Regions from separate parts of the Homo sapiens genome. Here regions 2, 3 and 4 are each linked to region 1. Evidence: promoter capture Hi-C in human tissues and cell types (Jung and others, 2019). All regions are on one chromosome and are shown on one strand. The core of a region is centred on a gene start or on the middle of the fragment in contact, and the rest is flanking DNA. Distances in the headings are between cores, read along the strand shown. Region 1 holds the start of TEAD1 (TEA domain transcription factor 1). Region 2 overlaps TEAD1 (TEA domain transcription factor 1). Region 3 overlaps PARVA (parvin alpha). Region 4 overlaps PARVA (parvin alpha).

What was found. Contacts are between HindIII fragments. The study calls those that stand out against the background at their distance.
Region 2: a fragment that was not itself captured here is called in contact with the fragment with the promoter of TEAD1 in region 1 in 1 of the 25 tissues and cell types used here (stomach).
Region 3: a contact is called between a fragment that was not itself captured here and the fragment with the promoter of TEAD1 in region 1, in 1 of the 25 tissues and cell types used here (aorta).
Region 4: a fragment that was not itself captured here is called in contact with the fragment with the promoter of TEAD1 in region 1 in 1 of the 25 tissues and cell types used here (thymus).

What each region holds. Positions count from the first base shown.
Region 1 is chr11:12,672,934-12,675,845 of GRCh38, forward strand. TEAD1 (TEA domain transcription factor 1) reads left to right here and starts at 1,488. Exons shown (of 13, transcript NM_021961.6): 1 at 1,488-1,901; 2 at 2,476-2,628. RefSeq lists a silencer at 1,180-1,479 and an enhancer at 2,315-2,912. The HindIII fragment of the contact is 23,361 bases long and covers 1-2,912 here.
Region 2 is chr11:12,916,767-12,919,678 of GRCh38, forward strand. All of the region lies in intron 10 of TEAD1 (TEA domain transcription factor 1), which reads left to right. Among named protein-coding and RNA genes, the nearest start is that of TEAD1-AS1, 4.7 kb to the right of the region's middle. The HindIII fragment of the contact is 7,007 bases long and covers 1-2,912 here.
Region 3 is chr11:12,470,120-12,473,031 of GRCh38, forward strand. All of the region lies in intron 1 of PARVA (parvin alpha), which reads left to right. Among named protein-coding and RNA genes, the nearest start is that of PARVA, 94 kb to the left of the region's middle. The HindIII fragment of the contact is 3,267 bases long and covers 1-2,912 here.
Region 4 is chr11:12,501,611-12,504,522 of GRCh38, forward strand. It overlaps PARVA (parvin alpha), which reads left to right. Exons shown (of 13, transcript NM_018222.5): 6 at 2,704-2,819. Among named protein-coding and RNA genes, the nearest start is that of PARVA, 130 kb to the left of the region's middle. The HindIII fragment of the contact is 7,128 bases long and covers 1-2,912 here.

The sequences.
Region 1 (2,912 bases), core at 238-2,737:
CAGGAAGCCGAGGCAGGAGGACAGCTTGAGCCCGGGCGTCTGAGACCAGCCTGGGCAGCATGGTGAAACTGCATCTCTACAAAAAAATTTTAGAAATTAGCTAGGCGTGGTGGTGCGTGCCTGTAGTTCCAGCTATTCGGGAGGCTGAAAAGGGAGGATGGCTTGATTCCAGGGAGTCGAGGCTGCAGCGAGCCCAGATCGCACCATTGCATTCTAGCCTAGGTGACAGAGCAAGATCCTGTCTCCAAAAATAAAATAAAAAAAAAATTAAAAAAAAGGAAAACAATGTATTAGTAAAAGTTATGTTTTGTAGAAATGTGTTGCACTCAGTCACAGTCTAGTCTCCTCAGTTACCCATATATAGGGATATAGGGATTCCTCGGGCACAAAATATGTTGTTATTTAATCCTGAGGCCTCAGCTGGAAAAGAGAGCCAAGTGCCTAGAACGAATGAGGTCCACTGTGCGGGAACTGCTTTGCAGTTTGTTAAATAATTATAACAATCACCCGAAACTTTAGACGGTTCTGTCCCCAGTGGGTCGATTTTACCCGTTTTCTGATTTACCGACTGCGTCTATGTCACTTTTGCGTCACTACCTCCAATGGCAGGGTTAAAATGATTCCTTTAATAATGAAATGAAGTTTCTCAATAATGAAAGGGCTAACTTAAAGTCGCCGGATGCAGCATTTCAAAGTTTAGGAAGTTACTTTTGAAAAGTACAACCGGCAGAGATGAGTGAACTTAGTTTTTTAACTGACTTGGAGAAGACCTTGCTAGCAGGGCAGGTTTATTACGAACTCTGTAATTATCCTTCTTTGCTAAGCTAAAGGTTTTCCTTTCCCAACCGTAAGACAGATTTCGACTTGAGTGAGAGCTGTGAACTTTTATAAAAGTGAAAGGGAAGAGAAGAAATGGCAGGCTGGGAATCTGGCCCGGAGACGGCGTCCACCGCGCTCGAGAGCAACAATCTGCATCACCAGAAAGGCAACTTCTCTACCCTACACTTGCAGACTTCCGCGAGTCCGGGAGCACTCAACGCAGTCACCCGCGCTTCCGCGTCCCGGACTAGGGAAACTGAGGCACGGTAGGCGCGTCGCGCGCAACTCCCGCCTCGGCGCCTGCCCCCTGGAAGAAACCCAGGCTTCCAGAGTTCTTCGCGCGAGCGCAGGGACTTCCAAGCCGCGCAGCTCCCGTCCGCCCCGCCCCGCCCCGCCCCGGCTCGGGACAAAGCCCGGAGCCCGCGCCGGGAGACGGAGGGCGGCTCCCGCGCGAGCCACGCTCCCCCGTGGGCGCGAGACTCCGCCCAGCTGCCGAAAGCCCGCGCCCCAACGGCGAAGCAGCCGCGCCGGTCCGCCCCGATTCCCCATGACGTCACCGGCGGCGGCAGGCCCCGCCTCCAGCCCCGGGCGGCAGGCCGCATGACGTCACCGAGGCCCCACCCCTCCGGAGCGAGTTCGGTCCTGGCGTTCATTTCATTCCTGTCCTCATTCCGAACATTCTTAGCATCGCTCGCGCCGCGCCGCGCCGCCTGAGCCGAGCCGAGCCTCTGCTGCCGCCGCCGCGGCCCCGCCGCCCGCCGCGGGCGCCCACCAAGCACTTTGCAGACTCGCTTCCACCCTGCGGGCCATTCCGCGCGGCGGGGCCCGGGCCCGGGGCGGCCGCGTCCAGGCACAGGCCATGCAGTGACGCCCCCCCACCCCTCCACCTTTGCCCGGAGCGCGGGCAGCAGCCCAGCGCGCCAGCCGGCCCCGGGGCAGGAGCGGTGCTAGGCAGGGGTGGGGTGGCCGGGCCCAGGGACCGGGAGCCGGGGAGGGAGCCGGGCACCGAGCAGAGGGCGGGGGAAGCGGCGCCGAAGTTTGCCTCGGACTCGCCGGGCGCTGCGGTGGCTCCCTGGGCCGAGGTAAGTTGGCGCGCGGGGCGGATGCTGGGGTGCGGGGGGCGCACGGGGCAGCGGGGGGCCGGCGGCGCGTCCCTCGCGGGCCGCTCTTTCTTTGCGGGCTCTGCTTTGTGTGCGACGGCGGGCGGGCACGCGGAGGGCCGCGGCCGGGCCCCCACACCCGCCTCCCCGCGCCCCCTCCGAGGTGAGCGGCCGGGCGCCGCCGCGCGACTTGCCAGGACGCCAAGTTGGGCCGCGCGCTGGGAGCCCGCGCGGCAACAGGCGGCCCCCGGCCGGCCGCGCCGCGCCCCCCGCGCGCCCCCTCTCCCGCCGCCTGCACGCGCACACACGCACACACCCTCGGGCGCCTTGGACGGGGTGCGCTGGGGAGCCAGAAGTTCGGAGCGAGCGCGGGCGGGCAGAGCCGCCGCCTCGGAGCCCGGAGCCGGCCTGCACCCCCCTGCTTTCGCCGCCGCCCCCCGGCGCCGGGTACCCCCGAGGCCGGCCCGGGTCTGCGCAGACTTGTGCCGCTGGCGGGGGGTTCGCTCCTTCTTCTCAAAGATGAAAAAGGGCACGGTCGTCTTTGCCGCTTCTCCAGGACTGTTGCTGCCGCTGCCGCCGCCGCTTCATTGCACATTCAAGTGGAAAATTTTCAGGAGTCAGCAGAAACATTGTGTCCAAAAAAGACTGAGTCGCAGTTACCACCAAACCCAGGAGGAGACTCTCCCTGGAAAACTTCCCTTCCCTTTCGGTAGGAAATACTGGGGGATTTGTTTGTTGATTGGAAGAGAAATGATCCCCGGGGGGGAGAAAATCTGGGTACACTTCTAGTCTTTGTTCGTAACAGCAACACTTGTTTTCAAAAGTCCAGAGTCCCGCTTTAAAGAAAGTTTAACTTCTGTGACTTTTCTTCTTTTTAAAAAAATAACTTTTGTATTTTTAAAAAATCAAAGCAATATTTTTAATGAGTCGAAAACAATGAGGACTCACACCTCCCCTCTCATGAAAATAAATGAAATCCAGATCAGAATTTTC
Region 2 (2,912 bases), core at 215-2,714, 240 kb after region 1:
AGTGGAGGACTGAACTTTGTAGAGTTTAACAAAAGTAAATGTAAAACTTGAATCTTGGGAAGCAAACAGAACCTGAAGAACTATGTGGGTGAGGAGGAGGAGAGGAATGGTGAAGTTAAGGAGGAAAGGAGAGAAAACTGCAGAATTGTGTTACAGAAGTGTTCTTCGGTCTGTGGTACCCGAAGTTCTGGATGGAAGTTACAGAGGAGCTCATTTCAACTTAACAGATGTAATAGGCAGCATCATGGATCCCCAGACATGCCTCCTCTGTAGCCATGGAATCTGTGGATAATGGTACATTACATGGCAAAGGGGAATTAAAAGTTGTTAATCAGCAGATAGAATATCTTGGATTATCTAAGTGGGCCTAGCATGGTCCCAAGGTCCCTTAAAGCAGAAGAGGGAGACAAAAAAAGACATCCAGAGAGACGACAGCTGGCAATGTGAGAAGGATTCGGCTGGTGTTTCTGGCTTTGAAAATGGAGCAAGGGGCTCCGGGACAAGGAATGTGGGTGGTCTCAGAAGCTGGAAGAGGCAAGGAAACAGAACCCTCTTCAGAGCCTCTGTCTAGTAAGGAGTTGCGTCCCTTCTAGTTCCTTGATCTTAGCCAGCCTGGAGCTGAATTAAATTTCTGACCTACAGGAATATAAAATAATTAGTTTGTCTTGTTTTAAGGCACTAAATGTGTGATAATTTGTAGCAGAGAAAATTAATATAACAGAAAAAAGCATTAACAGTTAAGGCTGTCTGGCAATATTATTATTATTTATAAATAGAGATGGGGTCTTGCTGTGTTGCCCAGGCTGGTCTCAAACTCCTGGGCGTAAGTGGCCAGCGTGCCTGGCCCAGCAGCATTATTGAAGTGATTTTCCTGTGTCTGAAAGTATTTAGCTTTAAGGCAGTGCAGGTCAGGATGCTGTGGAAAGGATTTCTGCTTTTGGAGGTAGGAGAGAGTTGACCTCTGAACTAAGTTTCAGCTTAGCGTTTAGGGTCTCTGTTTCTAGAGCAAACAGGGAGAAGATTTCTTAGAAGGACTCATTTCCCTGGACTTACCTTCCCCAGCCATATTTCTAAGTGTTGTTTTTTAACACTGCAGAACCTGGCCTATGACCAGCCTTTTTGGCTAGCTTGTGCCCAGAAGATGGGATATGGTTTGACTTTGGAATTTATTGGAAAGATAAGTTTTACTAGTTTTCAACTGTTTCTTGGATTTTTGTTTTTATTTACTTTTAGAAAATATCCTGTGGTTAGGTAAAAGCTGATTAGGCAGAAATAGTTTGTATCTCTGATAGTGGTACATTTTTAAAAACTCATTTTCTTGCCTTCAGAACTACATGAAATAGGTTTGCTTTCCACCTGGAGTGATTTTCAGTTGGGAGGGGGGACGTGTCAGTAGGGTAGATAATGAACTCTGCAAATCCCAGACTTCTTTGTTGTTGACTTAATGCTAGCATTCTTTCTTTGATATTACCTTCACTTCATGGGAGTTCAGTGACTGCATTTCTTTCTGGAATAGCCATAACACTATCAGCTGACAGATAATTATATATATATAAAATTATATATATCTTGATAATTATATATATATCTTGATAATTATATTTTACATCAATACTTCCTCCTAGAAAATTCCTGAAGAGCATCTGTGATATGGTTGGATAGCTACATAATTATTTTCCATGTTCAAGGGTAATTACAAAGCAGTTGTAATGGCAAATTGGTTATTTACTGTTAGTTGGGAAGCCTTTTAAAATCTAATCTCTTAAATTTACACTAATAATTAAATAGAGAATTTTCTCAGACTGTTTCTCCCTACCTCTTATCTAAATGAAGGATAAAATGCACGTAGACTCTATGACCGAGTAATTACACTCCTAGGAACGTCCAACAGAAACACATCCATATGTCCCTCAAAAGCATATTCAAGAACGTTCATAGTAGCACTCTTCTTAATAGGTCCATTTGGAAGCCTCGCAAATGTCCCTAAGTAATAGGGTGGATAGATCGTGGCATTTTTCATTCAATGGAATATTCTACAGTAATGAGGATGAATGAACTATATACAACAACATGGTTGAGTCTCACAAATAAAATGCTGAGTAAACAAAACTAAACACTGTAAACCCTGTTGCACTTGCTTAAAGTTCAGAAACCAGACAAAACTAATGTGTGATGTTTCAGGATCATGGTTACGCTGGCAAGGTGTATAGATGATTGTGCCTGGAAGGAAGGATATTTGGGGGAGAGAGGGACTTCCATTTCTTCATCTGGGTGCTGGCTCACTTGATGAAAATTAATCAAGCTGTAAACTTCCAGTTTGTGTACTTTTCTGAATGTATATTTTAATTTTATGTAAAACTGTTAACTTTGACAGCTTTAAAACATGTAATTTGTTGGGATGGTTTCTGAGGGTAGGTTGGGTATTCTTTAATAACTTTGTTTTGAATAATTCTATCATTGTAACTACAGATCATCCATTCCAAATGGAAGCTATATTAAAGTTGTTTGGGGAGTTCTAAGAGATAATGGTAAACCAATGGTGAGGTGGTAGGAATGGTCTGCCGCAGCTGCAAGCAGTAAGGACTTTGCTTGGCTGTAGGGAATTTACAAACAATGGCAAAACCATCTAAAAAATCAATTTTCTTTTTATTATCACCATATTAACTGACAAAACCTCCTTTGTTGGCCTGAGTCCTAAATAATTGGTGAAGTTAGTGTTGAATTTTTTTAATTACTTTTTTTTTGAGACAGCATCTAGTTCTGTTACCCAGGCTGGAGTGCAGTGGTACAAATCATGGCTCATTGCAGCCTCAAACTCCTGGGCTCTAGGAAGCTTCCTATTTTAGCCTCCCAGGTAGCTGGGACTACAGGCACATGCCACCATGTCCGGCTAATTAAAAAAAAAAAATTAT
Region 3 (2,912 bases), core at 107-2,606, 200 kb before region 1:
ATGGAAATGTATTTTGTTTTTCTGGGAAAAAGGTAAAATCCTTTGCATCCCATTCTCTGCTTTGGCAAATTCTGCCTCAACTCATAACCTGTGCAGTTGAAGGGTGGTCTTGACAGTTTGGATTATGTATTCAGCAAATATTTCTTGAGTGCTTACAATGCTTGAGGTGTTGTTTTAAGTAATAATAATAGTTGCATGTATTTACCTAGCTCTTACCAGCTGCCAGGCATGCTTCTGGGTACTTTGCATATATTAACTCATTTAGTCTTCTCAGCAACCCTTGGAGGTCGGCAATATTGCTGTCACTCCCATTTTGCAGGTGAGGAATCTAAGGCATGAGAGGTTGATGAACTTGCCCAAGGCCACAGAGCTGGTGAGTGGTAGAGTCTGGATATGAACGTAGGCAGCTTGGCTTCTAACCACTGTGCCCTCTGGCCTCATGGGGGATCTAATAGTGAACAAAAGAGAAATAGTGCCAGTCCTTACAAAACTTACATTCTGGTGAGGGAGAGAGTTAACAGCCATATAAGTTTTTATTTCAGATCATGATGAGAAAATAGATCATGATGAGAAAATAAAACATGAGAGGGAGGTGGGAGGGCGCTAATCAGAGTCTCATAGAATAAAACCTCAGCTCCTACCTATGACCTGAGTATGATGGGAAGTCACAAGAAAGCTTGAAGTGGGAGAATGTATGATCCTATTTACATTTTTGTAGAACATTCTCGCTGCACTGTGGGAAGTAGGTGAGAGTGGGGGAAATGCAAGCAAAGCAGTAGACCAGTTAGAAGGTGGTTCTGATAGGCCAGGCAAAAGATAACGGTGGCTCAAGTCAGGATGATAGAGCAGGGAGATGGTGAGAAGTGTTTGGAATTGGGTCCTGGTTTGGAGGCGGAGCCCACAATACTTGCCAGTGTTTTGGACAGATGCAAAAGGTGAGGAAAATGAGAACTTAAGAGTGATTCCTCGGAGCTTGGCGTGAACCATGGTGTAAACAGTGGTGCCATCTACTGAAGAGGATAAGAATAAAGAACAGGTTCATTTTAGTGCTGGTATGGTGGGTATGAGGGTGTTGAGAATCACAAGTTCTGTTTGGATGTGTACATTTGAGATCTCTATTAGTAGACCTAAGAGGAGACATTGAATAAGTGATTAGATTCATAAGCTTGGAGCTCCAGGCTGGAGATTTAAATGTGGACATGGACATTAGTTGAATGGGATGACCTAGGACATTATCCACTTACTCTTTTAAAAATTTTATTTTTTAACTTTAAGTTCAGGGGTACATGTTTGTTACATAGGCAAACTTGTGTCCTGGGGGCTTGTTGTATGGATTATTTTCCCATCAACTATAGACTGGATAAAGAAAATGTGGTACATATACACCATGGAACACTATGCAGCCATGAATAAAGAAAGGATCATGTAATTTGCAGCGACGTGGATGGAGCTGGAGGCCATTATCCTTAGCAAACTAACAGGAGCAGAAAACCAAATATGGCATGTCCTCACTTAAATCATGAGAACATACTTGATGATCTTGTGATGGAACCTTTCTACATCCATGCTGTCTGGTGTTGTAGGTACCAGCCACCTGTGGCCATTGAGTACTTGAAATGTGGTTGGTGCAGCTACGGAGCGGAATTTTTAATTCACTGAAATTTAAATAGCTCAAGTGGCTAGTAGCTACTGTATTGGACAGTGCCGATCAGTGTAGCTACAGGAGAGAAAGTCCCAGGCAGGAGCAAGTTCCTTCATTGGCCAGTAAGCCTAGCCTTGCAGCCACATTTAAACATGACTTTATTTCCACTGCTCACTCCTTGCGTAGCAATGCTTGTTAACAAAGTAATGAAAATTGTGCTTCTTTGTGAGAAATAGCCTGAGAAAGAAAGAAAACTGGTAGTTCTAGGGGAGATATTAGAAGAAACTATAGAATTTTAAGGAAACAGTTGTGCTTAGCTGGAAAACAAACACAATCTGTACCTACAGAATCATTTAAGCCAGGGATGTCCAATCTTTTGGCTTCCCTGGGCCACATTGGAAGGAGGAGGATTGTCTTAGGCCACACATAAAATACACTAAACACTAATGATAGCTGATGAGCTATTAAAAATCTCCAGATAATGTCATAATGTTTTAAGAAAGTTTATGAATTTGTGTTGGGCTGCATTCAAAGCCATCCTGGACCACATTGCAGCCCGTGAGCTGTGGGTTGGACAAGCTTGATTTAAGCTTTGAAGGTACCCCTTCTGTGTTTCTGTCATGTTTTATGGAGAATTCTATGAAATAGTCGGTGTCTGTGAATGTGGAGATCAAGGTGGTGACTGGCTGGTACCCTATGTGAATGTCAAAGACCTGCTGCAAAGGTACTAAATACCAGCCTCGCCATGCAAGTTGTGTCTCTTAGGGCGTAGAGAGTGTTTCACTCCCTTTGTTTCTCAGTCTCCTTCCAGTCCAACTGCAGCTATCAGTGAGTGTATTGAGGTGAAAGAACTCTTTGTAAGTGGCTGCCTTGTGCTTAGGATTTCTTGCAAGTCTATGCTGGCAATTGGTGAGGCCAGAGTCAATAAAAAAAATAAAATGGAAAGATGGGACGCTGCTTTTATTAAGGTTGATTGCAGCTGCTGTATTAGCTCTTTAAGAACCTCTTGGTGACCAACGCCTTCTGAGAAAATGGCCTTTCTGTGCTTAATTGGCAAAAAGCAAGGGGATTTAAGTCACTGCTTTTAGGAGGGGTAATCCAAGGTCAGCACTCACCAAACGTCTGTCACACAACTGGTTTTGTGGGAGGAATTCTTTTGTACTAAGGCTCCATGTGGGGGCTGGTCACTTGGAGGAGCGTGGGCTGGTAATCTTTGGTAGTTTTTACCTGTTTTTGTTTTTCTTTCTGAGGAAGGTGGAATTACAGATTT
Region 4 (2,912 bases), core at 205-2,704, 170 kb before region 1:
TAAAAGTTTGAAAAATGCTGATCTAAACCATCCTCTTGTTATTGGACATAGTGTTTTCCAGGGTTTTAAAACATCATAGTATATTACACAGTAACATCTTTGTACACGTAGCGTAGTATGTATGTGTGTGAGACTATAGACTATTTCTTTCTAAAAAAAATCCCAGGAGGATAGAGCATTCATTGAATGAGTCTGACATCTATATGATGCTTATGGTATAGCTCTGCATTGCTCACTAAGACAATGGAGATGGTGTACAATGTCACCAGGGTATAAGAACAACTTACTTGATCACAACTTTTCTAGCATTATATTTTGCCATTAAAGGGGAGAGGGGTAGCAAATGTTCTTACAACCCTCAGTGACGCCAGGTGGTGGGCCGGTAGTTCTGATGAGAAGAGCAAACCTGGATTTGCCTCTGATGGTGACCACACCATGTCAGTGGGTCACAGTGGGTCAGTGCCACATCAGGATCTTTTTTTGAGGCTGTAAGTCTGGGTAAAACTTAGTTAACAAGGCCCGAAAGCCCAAAATTGAAACCTTCTGGAAGGCTAGGAGTTCAGAGCAGTTCAGCTTCTGTTTGTGGTGATGGTGAGCTGCTGTTCATAATCAGTAGAAAACCTTCTTTGAAGTAGCAGTGATAACCAGAAACCCTAATGAGTTACAAAGGAATGTCTGAATCATTCTCTTTTCTTAGTGATTTCTCAAAGCTTCTGCTAAATCAGACTCACTGATCCCAGGGAAGACAGAATGACATCCTAATAATGGGCCTAGTGCATGCGAAGTACACAAAATAGGCATTTTTTTTTTGTTATTCCCTTAAATGCCCCCTGTAATGAAGAGCCGTGAAGCTGGTAGGACTGTGAAGGCAGGCAAAATATCTGATGAATCTTCCCTTTGATGAGAAAGAAAGGGAATAAAGCTGGCATGTTTTAGTTGCCTAGGTGCCAGGTAATTTCACATAAGGTATAATAAAAAAAAAAAATCAGCCATTCCTGGCCACCTGTTGTGTTCCAGGAGCATCAGAGAGAAAACTCCCAGGAGACATGTCGAGAGGCAGGAATGATAGGGGCACACAAATGTTCAACAGTGGCTAGAATTTGTTTTAATTGAAAAGATGGCAGATTTTTATTCTAAAGAATATTTTGAAATAGGAAAAAAATTAAGACTATCCACTCTAGTGTAACTATTTTCATTTTTTTTTTTTAATGAAGGCTTTTGGGGAATCTTTACAACCTGTACATCCACATAGGTTCTGTTACCTCCATTTGTAAAGATGAGCAAATTAAGGCTCAGAGGCCTTCGGTGGCCTACCCTACCCAAGGCCATGTAGCCAGTAAATAAGTGGTAGATTATAAAGTTAGAATTCAGGCTCCAGTCTGCCTGACCCTCTGTGCACCTCACTGAGTCTTTTTCTCCTCATCTAGTGAGAAAACTACAACCCAGTGTGACCCTGCCTTCTCTGGTGTAAATGGCTTGACTTTGAGCACATGACTCAGCAGCTTTGGCAGCCCCCTGGCTCAGTAACATCCCGTCCCAGCTGCTCCTTAAAGGGCATTGCCTACAGTGACCATAGTGACACTCAAGCCAAGTAACATAGCCCTTTGAATGTCTCTCTCATGGCTTCTTCCAGGGATCTTAAAGCCCTGAACCAAGGAAGAGACCTAGTGTTCCTGACTCAATGTTTATTTATTAAGGGCGTGCTTTATGTGCAGTCTTGAGACAAGGGTAGTAGTGATAATCCAGAGTTCATGGTTAAGTGGGAAGGGAGAGGGAGTGCAGAGCAGACATGCTTATGGTGATTGGAGTGGAGTGGGCAGGGACATGGGACCGGGAGAGAGCTGATCTGAGCTCAGAGCTCAGCAGTTGTCAGGATCCTCATGGGAACCTGGGATTAGAGAGGTGCCACATTGGAAATCTGGCAATAATATGACCCAAGAAGGAGCCCCATGGGACCTGGCAAAGAACTGAGGGGGCCAGGCATGGTGGCACATCCCTGTAGTCCCAGCTACTCCACAGAGGCCAAGGCGGGAGGATTGCTTGAGCCTAGGAGTTCGAGGCTGCAGTGAGCTAGGATTGTACCACTGCACTCCAGCCTGAGCAACAGAGCAAGACCCTGCTTCAAAAAAAAAGAAAGATTTGAGGGGGCCCAGAGTGAGGCCTGTGATGACCACAGGTGTCCCCTGACCCTCAGGCATGGTATAAAGGGACATTGGGTGGATATATTAGGCTGTTCATGCATAGCCATTAAGAAAGGCTTGAGGCTGGGTAATTTATAAATAAAAGAGGTTTAAACTGGCCGGCATCTGCCTGGCTTCCAGGGAGGCCTCAGGGACCTTTTACTCATGGCAGGAGGCAAAGTGGGAACAGGCACTTCATATGACAAAAGCAGGAGCAAGAGAGAGAGTGGGCTGCAGGAAGGTGCCATATACTTTTCAACCACCAGATCACATGTGAGAGCTCGAGTGTACTTATCACCAAGGGAATGGCACTAAGCCATTCATGAGGGATCCACCCCCACAATCCAAATACCTCCCACCAGGCCCCACCTCCAACACCGGGGATTACATTTCAGCATGAGATTTGGGCAGGGACAAATATCCAAACTCTATCAGTGGGGTACTACTACACTTTGAACATCTGCTTATATTGCCTAGAACCTGGAAGAAGATGCTGTAATTTTTCAATCTTCTTTCATTTCAGCTGTTCATGCCAAGAGCCTGGTGGCCATCTTACACCTGCTCGTTGCTCTGTCTCAGTATTTCCGCGCACCAATTCGACTCCCAGACCATGTTTCCATCCAAGTGGTTGTGGTCCAGGTAAGACAGGTAACACTACAAACATCTGTGTCTTTAAAGAGTCGTGGAGGTCGAGTTCCTATGGTGCGTCGAGTAGGTCATTAGAAGGATGGC